Linked DNA regions of Homo sapiens: all the other regions are linked to region 4. The links are contacts of gene promoters, found by promoter capture Hi-C in blood cells and fetal thymus (Javierre and others, 2016). All regions are on one chromosome and are shown on one strand. The core of a region is centred on a gene start or on the middle of the fragment in contact, and the rest is flanking DNA. Distances in the headings are between cores, read along the strand shown.

Evidence for each region. The method cuts DNA at HindIII sites, captures the fragments that hold promoters and counts their contacts. A CHiCAGO score of 5 or more calls a contact.
Region 1: a fragment that was not itself captured here is called in contact with the fragment with the promoter of CNPPD1 in region 4 in 1 of 17 cell types (M2 macrophages); the score reaches 5.5 in M2 macrophages.
Region 2: a contact is called between a fragment that was not itself captured here and the fragment with the promoter of CNPPD1 in region 4, in 7 of 17 cell types (neutrophils, naive B cells, fetal thymus and 4 more). The highest score is 8.4, in neutrophils.
Region 3: a contact is called between a fragment that was not itself captured here and the fragment with the promoter of CNPPD1 in region 4, in 17 of 17 cell types (fetal thymus, naive CD4 T cells, naive B cells and 14 more). The highest score is 16.4, in fetal thymus.

Annotation. Positions count from the first base shown.
Region 1 is chr2:219,072,172-219,075,216 of GRCh38, reverse strand. NHEJ1 (non-homologous end joining factor 1) reads left to right here. Exons shown (of 8, transcript NM_024782.3): 8 at 1-3,045. Among named protein-coding and RNA genes, the nearest start is that of IHH, 13 kb to the right of the region's middle. The HindIII fragment of the contact is 1,088 bases long and covers 846-1,933 here.
Region 2 is chr2:219,266,603-219,269,681 of GRCh38, reverse strand. All of the region lies in intron 2 of TUBA4B (tubulin alpha 4b), which reads right to left. Among named protein-coding and RNA genes, the nearest start is that of DNAJB2, 11 kb to the left of the region's middle. The HindIII fragment of the contact is 2,144 bases long and covers 542-2,685 here.
Region 3 is chr2:219,249,591-219,252,768 of GRCh38, reverse strand. It overlaps STK16 (serine/threonine kinase 16), which reads right to left. Exons shown (of 8, transcript NM_001330213.2): 8 at 2,432-3,178. It overlaps TUBA4A (tubulin alpha 4a), which reads left to right. Exons shown (of 4, transcript NM_006000.3): 2 at 539-761; 3 at 1,056-1,204; 4 at 1,446-3,059. The coding sequence ends at 2,417. Among named protein-coding and RNA genes, the nearest start is that of TUBA4B, 2.1 kb to the left of the region's middle. RefSeq lists enhancers at 2,537-2,656, 2,697-2,786. The HindIII fragment of the contact is 2,112 bases long and covers 813-2,924 here.
Region 4 is chr2:219,175,023-219,178,277 of GRCh38, reverse strand. CNPPD1 (cyclin Pas1/PHO80 domain containing 1) reads left to right here and starts at 1,353. Exons shown (of 8, transcript NM_015680.6): 1 at 1,353-1,518; 2 at 1,947-2,055; 3 at 2,606-2,687; 4 at 3,170-3,255. The coding sequence starts at 1,450. RETREG2 (reticulophagy regulator family member 2) reads right to left here and starts at 3. Exons shown (of 9, transcript NM_024293.6): 1 at 1-3. RefSeq lists silencers at 19-98, 1,089-1,138, 1,209-1,418, 1,539-1,598, 1,437-1,731 and an enhancer at 1-308. The HindIII fragment of the contact is 4,554 bases long and covers 1-2,403 here.

The DNA.
Region 1 (3,045 bases), core at 140-2,639, 100 kb after region 4:
TAAGAAATTGGATCCTGAAGTGAGTAAGTGACTTATCAAAGGTCATACAGCTAATAAGTGACAGCCAGAATTTAAGCCCAGACAGCTGAGTTCTTAACAGCATTATTATATACACTAATGAAAACATTTATTTTCCAGAAAGGACATTAGGTTCTTCTTTCCAGTCTCCCACTGTAAACCTCCTTATCCCATGACCTTGCCTCTTTTCAATAGGATGTCTGCTCCCCAGGGGCTCTTCAAGGAAGGAGCTCTTGAGGACTCCAGGACTTACCCTCATGCTTTTTCCTGCTAGCAGAGTCTGAGATCTCCACCAAGGCTCATTCCCAGTCACTGCTGATAACTTTTCTTTACCCCCAGACCACAGGACCCTAGAGTGTGCTGTGTGGTAGTGACTGTCATCGAAGTGAATTGGGAACTATATAAAAACAGCCTATCAGCTGGCTTACTTTGCTCTTTTGTTACTTTTTTTTTTTTTTAATGGAGTCTTGCTCTTGTTGCCTAGGCTGGAGTACAATCGCACAATTTTGGCTCACTGCAAACTCCACCTCCTGTGTTCAAGTGATTCTCCTGCCTCAGCCTCCCGAGTAGCTGGGATTAGATGCCTGCCACCAAGCCCGGCTAATTTTTGTATTTTTTGTAGAGACAGGGTTTCACCATGTTGGCTAGGCTGGTCTCGAACTCCTGACCTCAGGTGATCTACCTGCCTCGGCCTCCCAAAGTGCTGGGATTACACGTTTGAGCCACTGTGCCTGGCCGATCTTTCGTTTCTTTTCAGCATAATTTAGATAGTCAGATTTCAGTATCTACAAGGCACATGGAAAATGGAAAGGCTTCCCCTGCAAGCTTGGAGAAAATACCGGTTCTTCACCCTGGGCATTCCCTGTACTGTAACAGCACAGACTCAAGACATTTTTCATCACAGCGGGGCCAGAGGCCTGTGAATCCCTCAAAATTGTAGGTAAAATCTTAAGAGCAAAATTTTGTTGATGTTCTCAAAAAGAATGTGTGACTTTCTAAAAAGGTTAAGTAAGAATATAGCTAGTAACCTTCCATCCACTGCCCCCATCATCCCCAAAGGTTGCTGTCTCCATTGGGGTATTGCTTAAATACGTTGTTAGAGAAACATTGCTACCAGAGGCCCTGCCACAGGCATTCTTGCCCCGAAGCCCTTACCCCGCAAAGCTAGGGGTAGTGGTTGAGAATCATTCATCCTAAGGCAACTCCAGGGAAATCCCTGCTTTGACAAATTGGCCTAGCCAGGCTGTATTCCAGCCCTGCCCCCTGGCTTGGGCCCCTCCCTGAGGCCCCCAGCCTGGCCCAACCCCCACTCTACATGCACATAAAAGGGTCGAATTCTCGTGGCTGCTCCATAAATTTTATTCCGTAAATATTAGTTTTCCCTGTGTTTAATAAAGCAGTGGCCCACCTCCCCGCCTACCCGCCCGCTCCCCGGGGCTGGGGCTGGGGCCAGGGCTGGCTGGTGGGAGAAGGGACTCTTTCAATTGCTTTGGAGTATTTTTAGAAAAAAAAATAATATAAGGTGGTTTACACGAGCAAGCCAGCAAACCAGGAGCAGGACTTGGGACCTCGAGGAAGTTCCTGCAGGAACTTGACCTAAAAAGTAGAGAAATAGCGCCACCTAGATTGCAAGGCCTACTTGGCCTTGCCGGCTGGTCCCCCATAGTTAGCTAGGACAGGCATGCTCCCTGCTTGGAGAGAAAGCCTCATCCCTTTCCACTCTAGCTGGGTAGCACCTCCTTTTCTCATGCCTCAGTGGGGGCTTCCCCAGCAACCCTTAAAAGCAGAGCTCAGGCTGGGTCCTAAAAGATATCACTAGGGTCATTCTCTTCTCTTGTCACCAGGCAGCCAGTCTCCCAGATCAAGGAGGATTTCCAAGGGATAGTAAAGTTATTGAGAAGGCAGGAAGAAAGCTTCTAGTCTCCATCTTTCCCTGATTCCTGAGAAGCGAATTCCTATGGTGTAAGGTGGCGAAGAGTGAGATCTGTGCTTCTATGCTCTGAACTGGAAAGAGTCTAGCCTGTTGAGACCAAAATCCTTCCACAGGCCTGGTGTAGCGCACCCACAGTGAGCACTGGGGGAAGGAGAGATGCTCACATCTCTTGATACTCAGCCCTACTGCTGCTCGTTTTTATCCAGCGGTACATTTGGACTCCCTTTTCTTTCCTTCCTTTTCACTTAGACCTCCCATTTTCCCAAGCCCTTACCTCCTCCTTAGCCCACGTTTGTTGGGAGATAAGCAGGGGCCCCTTGTGTACTCTGTACAAAGCTGGCGGGAGGAGTGGGGAATGGAAAAGGCTGTGCTGCTCCTCCTGGTTTCGTTCCTTACATTGTCACTAGGAGCATTTTCCTCTCTCTGTTTATTCTGTCTCTCATTTTCTCCTACTTACAAAACTACACAGATTCGCTCCAGAGAGTATAGAGTAAGCCTAAATTCTCTTAATAGCCCTTCCTCATGATATGGTAAGCTCACTTTGTCTGTTCTGCTTATGCTGTTAATGTAGACTGTGTTAATAGACACACTTCCTGTGCACTTTTCTGTTTTCATCCTTTCATTAGGTTATACTCTTTGAGAACAGGGTCAGTTTTAACCCTAACTCAGAAAATATCACTTCAGGGATATTATACCATTAACAAATATAATTTTATGTCAACTAGGTTTTGATACAATCAGGATATGTTTTTCTAAGCTCTACTGTGAAGTAGTTTCTGTCTTCTAATTTTTCTTGAAGAAAAAACTGTTAGAAAGGAATAAGTGACATACTGCAAGGAAGCCACCAAACTCAGAGCTCAAGAACCTTGGTTCCTCGTCTCTGTTACTAATATCCATAAATGTATGGGCTAGCAAAATTGTAATGGATTACACTAGGCCCTTAGATACAGAGGGGAATGCAGGAAGAGAAGGAAGCCCATACTTTATAGGAGGGGGGTTCCCAGCTGCATTGATGCCCTGGAAGCTGCTACAGGGTGCTCTTGTCCAGGGCAGCTCATTGCTCTATGTTTTTTCCTTGTGTTCTTGGCCAAGGC
Region 2 (3,079 bases), core at 364-2,863, 91 kb before region 4:
CAGGCATTGCCAACTGCACACCGGCCTGCCCCACGTGGACTGAGATGCACTCACACTGAGTGGGCAAAGGGCAGAGAACGGCCTTCACAGAGGGAAACATATCATGCCTGGACATGGTTCCTGCCTGCCTTCCTTGAGTGGCTCTTTGGCTGAGGGCCAAGGTTCCTGGACTCTACTCTGCTTGCCTCGCCTCCTGCATCTAAGCATTTACTGGTGGCACTGAGGAGCAACAGGCATCGGCTGTAGGGGCTGGGCCAAAATCATTGGGGGAAGCAGAAGATGCGGGCAGTCCTGAGATTATAGACTCTTGCTCAGTGCCTGTCTCAATGAGCAACATTGAAGGAATCGAATGAATCTAGAAGTGCAAGATAATCTACCCACCAGTGTCCAGAAAGAAATTAGGAGCCATTGGTGAGGGAAGCAAGGGAAAATAGTACAAAGATAAAGCACAGGAGACATTAACTCCAAATTTGGAATAATGGTGCTCTCTGGCAGGGGAAGCAGATAGATGCAATTGGAGACAGATTCTATTTCTCAAGCTTGATAGCTGCTGTTCATCACATTATTCTTTTCTTTTTTTCTTGAGACAGAATCTCACTTTGTCACCCAGGCTAGAGTACAGTGATGTGATCATAGTTAACTACAGCAGTCTTGGACTCCTGGGCTCAAGGGATCCTCCTGTCTCAGCCTCCCGAGTAGCTGGGACTACAGGCATGCACCACCATGCCTGGCTAAGTTTTAAATTTTTTTGTAGAGACAGGTCTCGCCATCTTTCCCAAGTGGGTCTTAAACTCCTGGGGTCAAGCAGTCTACCTGCCTTGGCTTCCCAAAGTACTGGGATTACAGGCATGAGCCACCGCCGCCCAGCCTATCATGTTATTATTTATACCTTTTTGCATTCCTGAAATATTTCTTAATTGTTTAATGAGGATGACTTCTCCAAAAATGTAACACTTCATTGACTATTTTTATATAACACAAAGGCCTGACTTTTCATGATTTTTAGATGACTGAGATTAATCCATAAATAATCTGTATTCCAGCCCAATTACTTCTCTACTTGTCTTGAGCAAAAATCTTAACCTCTTTGTCAATGTTCTCCTTTTGAAATGTAGACAATAATAAGAGCCCCTCCTAGAAAAACTATGAGAATTAAATGAAAGAATGCATGCAAAGTGCCTGGCCCACTGCCTAACACACACTAGGGTGTGCCATGCATGTTGGGTTCCCCTTCCAATTTCCCACCCTCAATCCCTGATGTCATAGTAAGAGAAGGTAATGAATTGAGGCTGGGCGCAGTGGCTCAAGCCTGTAATCCCAGCACTTTGGGAGGCCAAGGCAGGTGGATCACTTGAGGTCAGGAGCTCGAGACCATCCTGACCAACATGGTGAAACCCCCTCTCCACTAAAAATACAAAAATGGTGTATGCTTATAATCCCAGCTACTCGGGAGGCTGAGGCAGGAGAATTGCTTGAACCCAGAAGGTGGAGGTTGCAGTGAGCCGAGATTGCATCACTGCACTCCAGCCAGGGCAACAGAGTGAGACTCCATCTCAAAAAAAAAAAAAAAAAAAAAGATAATGAGTTGAGCTGAGACCTCAAGGACAGGAGAAATCCCAGGTCCAATCCTGGGGCTGCCTTGGCTCACCAATCACCTGCCTGGTGCTGCACCTCTGAGCCTGACCAGCCAGTTCTGTCCACAGACCCAGACATCGTCCTGGCCCCCAGAACTACTAGCCCATGCAAGGTGTCTCTGGCCCCTCTGGGAATGATGTCTCACACTGGAGGCAGCAGTTTTGGGGCAAAGAACTCAGCCCCTGGCCGGGTGCAGTGGCTCACGCCTGTAATCCCAACACTTTAGGAGGCCGAGGTGGGCAGATCACAAGGTCAGGCGATTGAGACCATCCTGGCCAACATAGTGAAACCTTGTCTCTACTCAAAATACAAAAATTAGCCAGATGTGGTGGCAAGCGCCTGTAGTCCCAGCTACTTGGGTGGCTGAGGCAGGAGAATCGCTTGAACCCGGGAGGCAGAGGTTGCAGTGAGCCGAGATTGCGCCACTGCACTCCAGAATGAGACTCCGTCTCAAAAAAAAAAAAACAAAAAAAAGAACTCAGCCTCTGGAGTCACACAGACCTGGCCTCAAACCCCCATCTCTCTGTGATCCAATACAAGTCATTTCACCTCAGCTTCCCTAGCACCTTTTTCATGACTGTAGAAAGAGAAGAATCTCATAGCCGGCGGCCTGTGTTGTTACATTGCTTAGTTCTGCTTATTAAGCACTAATAAGGTGCCAGGTGAAGGTGGCACTTTATACACATTATCTCATTTAATCTTTACCACATTCACCTTAGGTAGGTAGTTTTATTACCCCCAATTTATAGATGAGGAAACCGACCCTCAGAGAAGTCAAGTAGCTTGCTCAAGGCCATGAGCAAAACCAAGAATATTTAGAGCAGGGATGGCCTGGCACCAACCATGCTCTTAACTGTTCTTCTATCCTGCCTGGTAGGGAGGTGGGTAAAAGATATCAAATAAGCCCCAGGCACAGCCAGCTCTTGACAGATGGGAGCACCCCCTTTTCCCTCCTCCTTCTTCTCCCCACTGATCTGTAACTGACATGAGAGGTCAGACAAAGGCACAGCAGATGGGCAGGGTGGAGGGAGGAACCAGAGGGGAGAAGCTTCCATGGAGGATGTGTCCCCATGGTGGGAAGGTGGGATCAGAGCCCAACAGTGAACCTGTGGCAAGGCCCAGGGTCTGGAGATCCTCAGCCAGCAGAGGAAATCGCCTACACTTTCTGCTCAAGTCCTGCTTCCCCCACACTCCCCACACCTAAATTCAGACCCCCTCAGCAGCCCTGCTTCTCAGCCTAGGCTCAGCCCCACAACCTGGTTACCATTAAACTTTCCTTCCCTACCCCCTGTGATGCCCCCCACACCTGCACATTTGGGGGCCACAGCCACATCTGGAAGTCTCTTTCCCTCTCCCCACCTCGCCACATACTGTAGCCCCATCACCATGTGGACTCCCAAGGTACCTTCACGCCAGATATCTTGGGCCCACTGGGACCCTCACT
Region 3 (3,178 bases), core at 619-3,118, 74 kb before region 4:
CCAGGGTGCGGGGGTGGAGGTGGGGAGAGGAGCCAGATGGGATTGATCCCCAGAGCCAGATGGGATTTAAAGGTGAGGGAGGAGGGCATCCTGATGGCGTGTGGTCAGTTGATGCCAGATTGGATGGCTGAGACACCTCTGCAGCTTACAGGAAAGAAAGAGGGAAAGGGTTCTATGAATTCTAGCTGTTCATACTCAAAGCAAATAATTAATCAAGTGGGGGGGGGGCCTCTAGCTGTAAACCCATACCTCTAGGAAACCTTTTGTCATGTGGAGCCACAGTGCTCACTTGACAGATTCCCCACTGAGAAGTGGGCTAAGAGGTTGGCCTGCATTGCTGGGTGCCTCCAGGTGGGGAGTCCTGTACCTGGGAGCCCGGGCAGGCTGCTACTCTCTTCTCACCTCTGCCCAGCCCCAACCCTCCACTCTTGCCAACTGAGTCATCCTAGCTGGTAGATGATAGGGTGGAAGAGAGACTCGCAAGGTGAGGACTTGTGGATGTGGGGCTCATGCTGTGTCCCCTCTCTCTATCCCTCAGCGTGAATGCATCTCAGTCCACGTGGGGCAGGCAGGTGTCCAGATGGGCAATGCCTGCTGGGAGCTCTATTGCTTGGAACATGGGATTCAGCCTGATGGGCAGATGCCCAGTGACAAGACCATTGGTGGAGGGGACGACTCCTTCACCACCTTCTTCTGTGAAACTGGTGCTGGAAAACACGTACCCCGGGCAGTTTTTGTGGATCTGGAGCCTACGGTCATTGGTGAGAGGAAGTGGGGACAAAATTGAAGGGGGTGGAGCATGACTCAAAGCTTCTCCCTGGAGAGAGAGGGTATTTAGACCAGGCATTCCTAGCCCTGAAAATTCCTAGCCGTACTTGAAGCTGCAGAAGGCAAGCTGATCTGAGACTGGCCTGGGCAGCTGGTCTGGGTTTCTCTCACACTCTGGTATCTCAGGCTGGCAGGAGGATGAGTCCTTCCATGCATCTGGCCACAGCTACCACCCTGGGGGAGGAAGGTCCCTGCTGAGCATAGCTTTGTGGTTTTTGCCCTTCCAGATGAGATCCGAAATGGCCCATACCGACAGCTCTTCCACCCAGAGCAGCTCATCACTGGGAAAGAGGATGCTGCCAACAACTATGCCCGTGGTCACTATACCATTGGCAAGGAGATCATTGACCCAGTGCTGGATCGGATCCGCAAGCTGGTGAGAGTGTGTCTTGGGAGGGAGGGAACTTTTGAGACTGTGCTAATGGTCAGGAATATTTTTTTTCAGATCCTTTCAGGAGGTCATCTCTAACTATACATGGTCTCGAGTGTGGTGCTGCTATGGCATCCTCAGTATTTGCCCTGACTGCTGATGTATCTTACGCTTTATGGAGCCAGGTGATAGAGTCCCTCAGGCCCCTCCCCTACCTAAACTGTTCTTTCTCGTTCTTGCCTTTCAGTCTGACCAGTGCACAGGACTTCAGGGCTTCCTGGTGTTCCACAGCTTTGGTGGGGGCACTGGCTCTGGCTTCACCTCACTCCTGATGGAGCGGCTCTCTGTTGACTATGGCAAGAAATCCAAGCTGGAATTCTCCATCTACCCAGCCCCCCAGGTGTCTACAGCCGTGGTCGAGCCCTACAACTCTATCCTGACCACCCACACCACCCTGGAGCACTCAGACTGTGCCTTCATGGTGGACAACGAAGCAATCTATGACATCTGCCGCCGCAACCTAGACATCGAGCGCCCAACCTACACCAACCTCAATCGCCTCATTAGCCAAATTGTCTCCTCCATCACAGCTTCTCTGCGCTTTGACGGGGCCCTCAATGTGGACCTGACAGAGTTCCAGACCAACCTGGTGCCCTACCCTCGCATCCACTTCCCCCTGGCCACCTATGCACCAGTCATCTCTGCAGAAAAGGCATACCACGAGCAGCTGTCGGTGGCAGAGATCACCAATGCCTGCTTTGAGCCTGCCAACCAGATGGTAAAGTGTGATCCCCGGCACGGCAAGTACATGGCCTGCTGCCTGCTGTACCGTGGAGATGTGGTGCCCAAGGATGTCAACGCTGCCATTGCCGCCATCAAGACCAAGCGCAGCATTCAGTTTGTGGACTGGTGCCCCACAGGCTTCAAGGTTGGTATCAACTACCAGCCTCCCACTGTGGTGCCTGGGGGTGACCTGGCCAAGGTGCAGCGTGCCGTGTGCATGCTGAGCAACACGACCGCCATCGCCGAGGCCTGGGCCCGCCTGGACCACAAGTTCGACCTGATGTATGCCAAGAGGGCGTTTGTGCACTGGTATGTGGGTGAGGGCATGGAGGAGGGTGAGTTCTCCGAGGCCCGTGAGGATATGGCTGCCCTGGAGAAGGATTATGAGGAGGTGGGCATCGACTCCTATGAGGACGAGGATGAGGGAGAAGAATAAAGCAGCTGCCTGGAGCCTATTCACTATGTTTATTGCAAAATCCTTTCGAAATAAACAGTTTCCTTGCACGGTTTCTTGTTCCCTCTGAGTGCTTGAGCTTCTGCTGCCTTCCCCTTCATGCTGCTGCTGCTCTGTTTGCTGTTCATGACCCTTATCCCTTCCATCGCTGAAGGTGAGACCTGCAAAGGGGTTCTTGCCAGGCCCAGGAAGCATAACCCCAGGGACTTTAAATTGAAGTCCTAGGGTTACTCAGTATAGGGAGGAAATGAGGACCAAAATCCAGGCACAAACTGTTGAAGGATGAGTCTTCAGCTCCTTTCCAAGTAGGAGTATAATCCAGTGGTTTCTGTCTTTGAAAGTTAGACTGCTACCCTGTTCTTCCTGCTGCCTCTACATTTACCAACTCTGGAAGCAAGGCTTGGCCCAGGCTCCTCTGTGCATTATGAGGGTTTGGGAGTGGGGCTGGGCTGGCCCAGAGTTCCTGGGCATGGAGCCACGTCATAAGCTTGGGGGATGGGAGGGAACACAGGCGATCTCCTAGAGTTGTTTGTGCCACTGCACCTCTGAGCAGCTTTGCATAGCTTCCTGTCTTGCTGCTTTGCTGGAGCTGGGGCTGTGCCATTAAAAGTCAGGTCATCTCCCCTCTGTTTGTGATTTCTTTCTGGCCTCAGCCTCTGTGCTAGCTAGTGGGAGACTCCTGCTAGGGCCCTGGGGAAAGCTTCAACTTTGCTAACAGGAGCCCCAGGCCCCATGCTGATGTC
Region 4 (3,255 bases), core at 104-2,603:
AAGGGGGCGCCGCGGAGGACAGCAGAGGTTGCGGACGAGCGTCACGTGACTGCGGAGCGCTGAGCCCGTCACGTGACGCGGCCTAACCCCCCCCCCCCCGGATAGGGCGGGCCGCGCATGCGCCCCGGCGGCTGCCGCTGACACTGCGCCTACACAGGTTCGTTTTCTGGTTGACGAAGTACCCCGGGTTCCGAGTCCGGGTCTAGGTCCAGGCAGTCGAGCCCGTTTTCTTATCCCACAGTAGGCAGGGCGGCTAGGGAGTGTGGTGCTGCCCCGGTATCCCCGTGTGGGGCAGGAAGTGGGCTTCCAGATTCCCAGTATCCCCGGTAGGGTCTGCTTCTGCTCGCTCGGGAAGGGCGGTGGCCGTCCCATTACTCAACCAACCCTCAACGCACTGGTCCTCCCAGTTCCCTCCCCTCAGTGGGTAAACAAACACACACCAGCGCTTGACTCGACAGACTCGAAAACAACATCTACTCAGAAAAGTTGTTTCTTTCCTATCTCCTTAAACTTTCCCACTTCCACATATCGGAGCTTCTTCCCACCTCGGCCTACTCAAGCATGAGATCGGAGGCGGGAGGTGGGTTTCAACACAAAACCTTGGGTAGATGCAGTTTACTTTTGGGTGGACGTGTTGACACGTTTTGAGGCCTTACATTCGCTTAAGATCACAGAATTTCCTCAGTAGCCTTAGGTTTAAAAGTTCAAATTACAGTAAAAAAAAAAAACACCCTGAGTTTCTCTTCCTTTTCATAGTTCACCCACTGCTAAATTTCCTGTGTGTCCTTTCAGACGCTTTTCATATGCATTGCTGAGTATGTATAATATCTCTCCTAAAAAGCAACTGGGAACAACTTCCTGTTGTGCGTTTCGTCTTATTCACATTAACTTCTCCATTGCTACGCCTGGCTTGTTCATCCTCAGTGCGGCGTGGTCCCCCCTACGAATTGTCCCCATTTCTCAGAGGCGCCTGGGGCTTGGCCACGTTCCGTGAGACCAGGAGTTCGAGTCCGGTTCCTGCCCGCGGGTCGGGGCGGGAGGCTGGGCCAGATGGGCGGCAGGAAGTGCCAGGCGCTGACTTGCAGGCGGCACCCCCGCGGCTTGTAAACGCCGGGCGGACGCGGCACAGGCGGAGTACGCGCCTCGCAGCCGCATCTCCTTTCTGCTCCGCGAGGTGAGCGTCGCACGGACGCTTGACACCTCCCTTCCCGGGCCTAGGGCCCCCGCGCGCCGCGCCAAGCCCGGGGCGGAACAGGAAGAGGCGCCCAGTTCAGCCCGGGCCCCGCCTTCCGCCGCCGGGGGGAGGGAGCTGCGAGGGCGAGGGCGAGGACGGCGGCCCGCCCCGGGGAGGCAGGCTGGCAGGTGGACAGGCGGGCAAGGACAGCTCCGCGAGCCCCCTACAACTCGTTTCCTTCCGTTCACCTTCGCAGGGCGGCGACTGGCGGCGCGATGGACCTGACCGGGCTCCTGCTGGACGAAGAAGGCACCTTCTCCCTCGCCGGCTTCCAGGACTTCACGGTGAGTGGGGGTCCCGCCCCCTCCCCGGCCTCCCGGCGCGCCCCTCCCGGCCTGAGCGGCGCTGCGAGCTCGCCTGACTGCTGTGCCGGGACTGGGCGGCAGCTGCTCGAGCAGTGCTTCCTTGAGGCCGCGGCTGCTTGGGCCGGGAGGGAGAGCCGCGGAGTATAGGAATGGGCGTAGGGGTGGCCACACGAGGGCCCTTCTCGGAGAACTTCTCCCGGGGAACCCTCGATGGGGGTGGGGGCATTCCTCCCTCTATGGACCAGGCTGCCATTGGCAAGCGATTTACAGAACGCGGGTCTGGGTAAGGCACGGGCCCCCTAGCAGCGAGGCCGGCCTGTCCCCTGCCCCGCCTTCCAGCCCAGAGCCAGGATCTGCATCATACCTTTCCGTGCCCTTCACCCTCCGCTGCCCCTGCCCTGTTTCAGTTCCTCCCAGGACACCAGAAGCTGAGTGCCCGGATCCGAAGGAGGCTCTACTATGGCTGGGACTGGGAAGCCGACTGTAGCCTGGAGGAGCTCTCCAGCCCGGTGGCAGGTTAGGCAGTGTTGTGTGACTGGACAAGTGAGAAGCATGAAAATGGGATTGTCATCAGGCAGAAAATGGCTCGAGGTTTGCCCCGTGGCTACACTGTCTCTTCATTGCTAGCTCGTTGGTACTTGGTTCAAGAGGGCAGTTTGCATTTCCCATTCTTTTAGCCCAAATGAATAAAAAACATTGCTGCCACATATATCTATACAAATCACTCTTGATTTATATATTGAAAAGCTAATTTTCGAAGGATATCCATCATATGTTCCCCAAGTAAACAAGGCATGTTTATGCCACAGATGAACAGCAGTGACAGATAAATCTGGATAGTTTGATGTGACAGGGCAATAAGCTTTCCTGTTAGAATGAGCTGAAATTCGAACTTGGAATGGGCTTTTTGTCTCAGTGTGTGAGAATTTGATCTCTATTTTGTTACTATGGTCCTGTCCCCAAGGCCTCAGAAAATACAGATCTGGGTCTTCTGCTAGCAGTGGGGACTGGTGTGTTGGGTGTGGGTGCTTGTTTGCTCACTCGGCCTTCCTTCTGTCCCTTGCAGACATTGCTGTCGAACTGCTCCAGAAGGCAGCCCCCAGCCCTATTCGCCGACTCCAGAAGAAATATGTAGCTCATGTGTCCCGGTGAGCCTGGAAATGAGGATAGGATGAGAGTGTTTGGGCCCTAGAGAAAGGGGAATCGTCTTTTCTTTCTTTTCTTTCTTTCTTTTTTTTTTTTTTGAGACAGTCTCACTTTGTCACCCAGGCTGGAGTGCAGTGGCACAATCTCGGCTCACCGCAACCTCCGCCTCCTGGGTTCCAGTGATTCTTGTGCCTCAGCCTCCCCAGTAGCTGGGACTACAGGCACACACCACCGCCCCTGGCTAATTTTTGTATTTTTAGTAAAGACGGGGTTTCACCATGTTGGCCAGGCTGGTGTCAAACTCCTGGTGTCAGTCCACCCACCTTGGTCTTCCAAAGTGCTGGGATTACAGACATGAGCCACCGTGCCCAGCCAGGAATAGTTTTTTTCCAAAGATAAGAGGTAAAGACAGGAACGAGCATCATAAGACTTGCAAGAGCTGAAGGACCCTTGGGTTTAATTAGTGATCCTTTCTACCACCCAGGGAGGCATGCATCTCCCCATGTGCTATGATGCTGGCTCTGGTGTACATTGAACGGCTCCGGCACCGAAACCCAGACTACTTGCAGC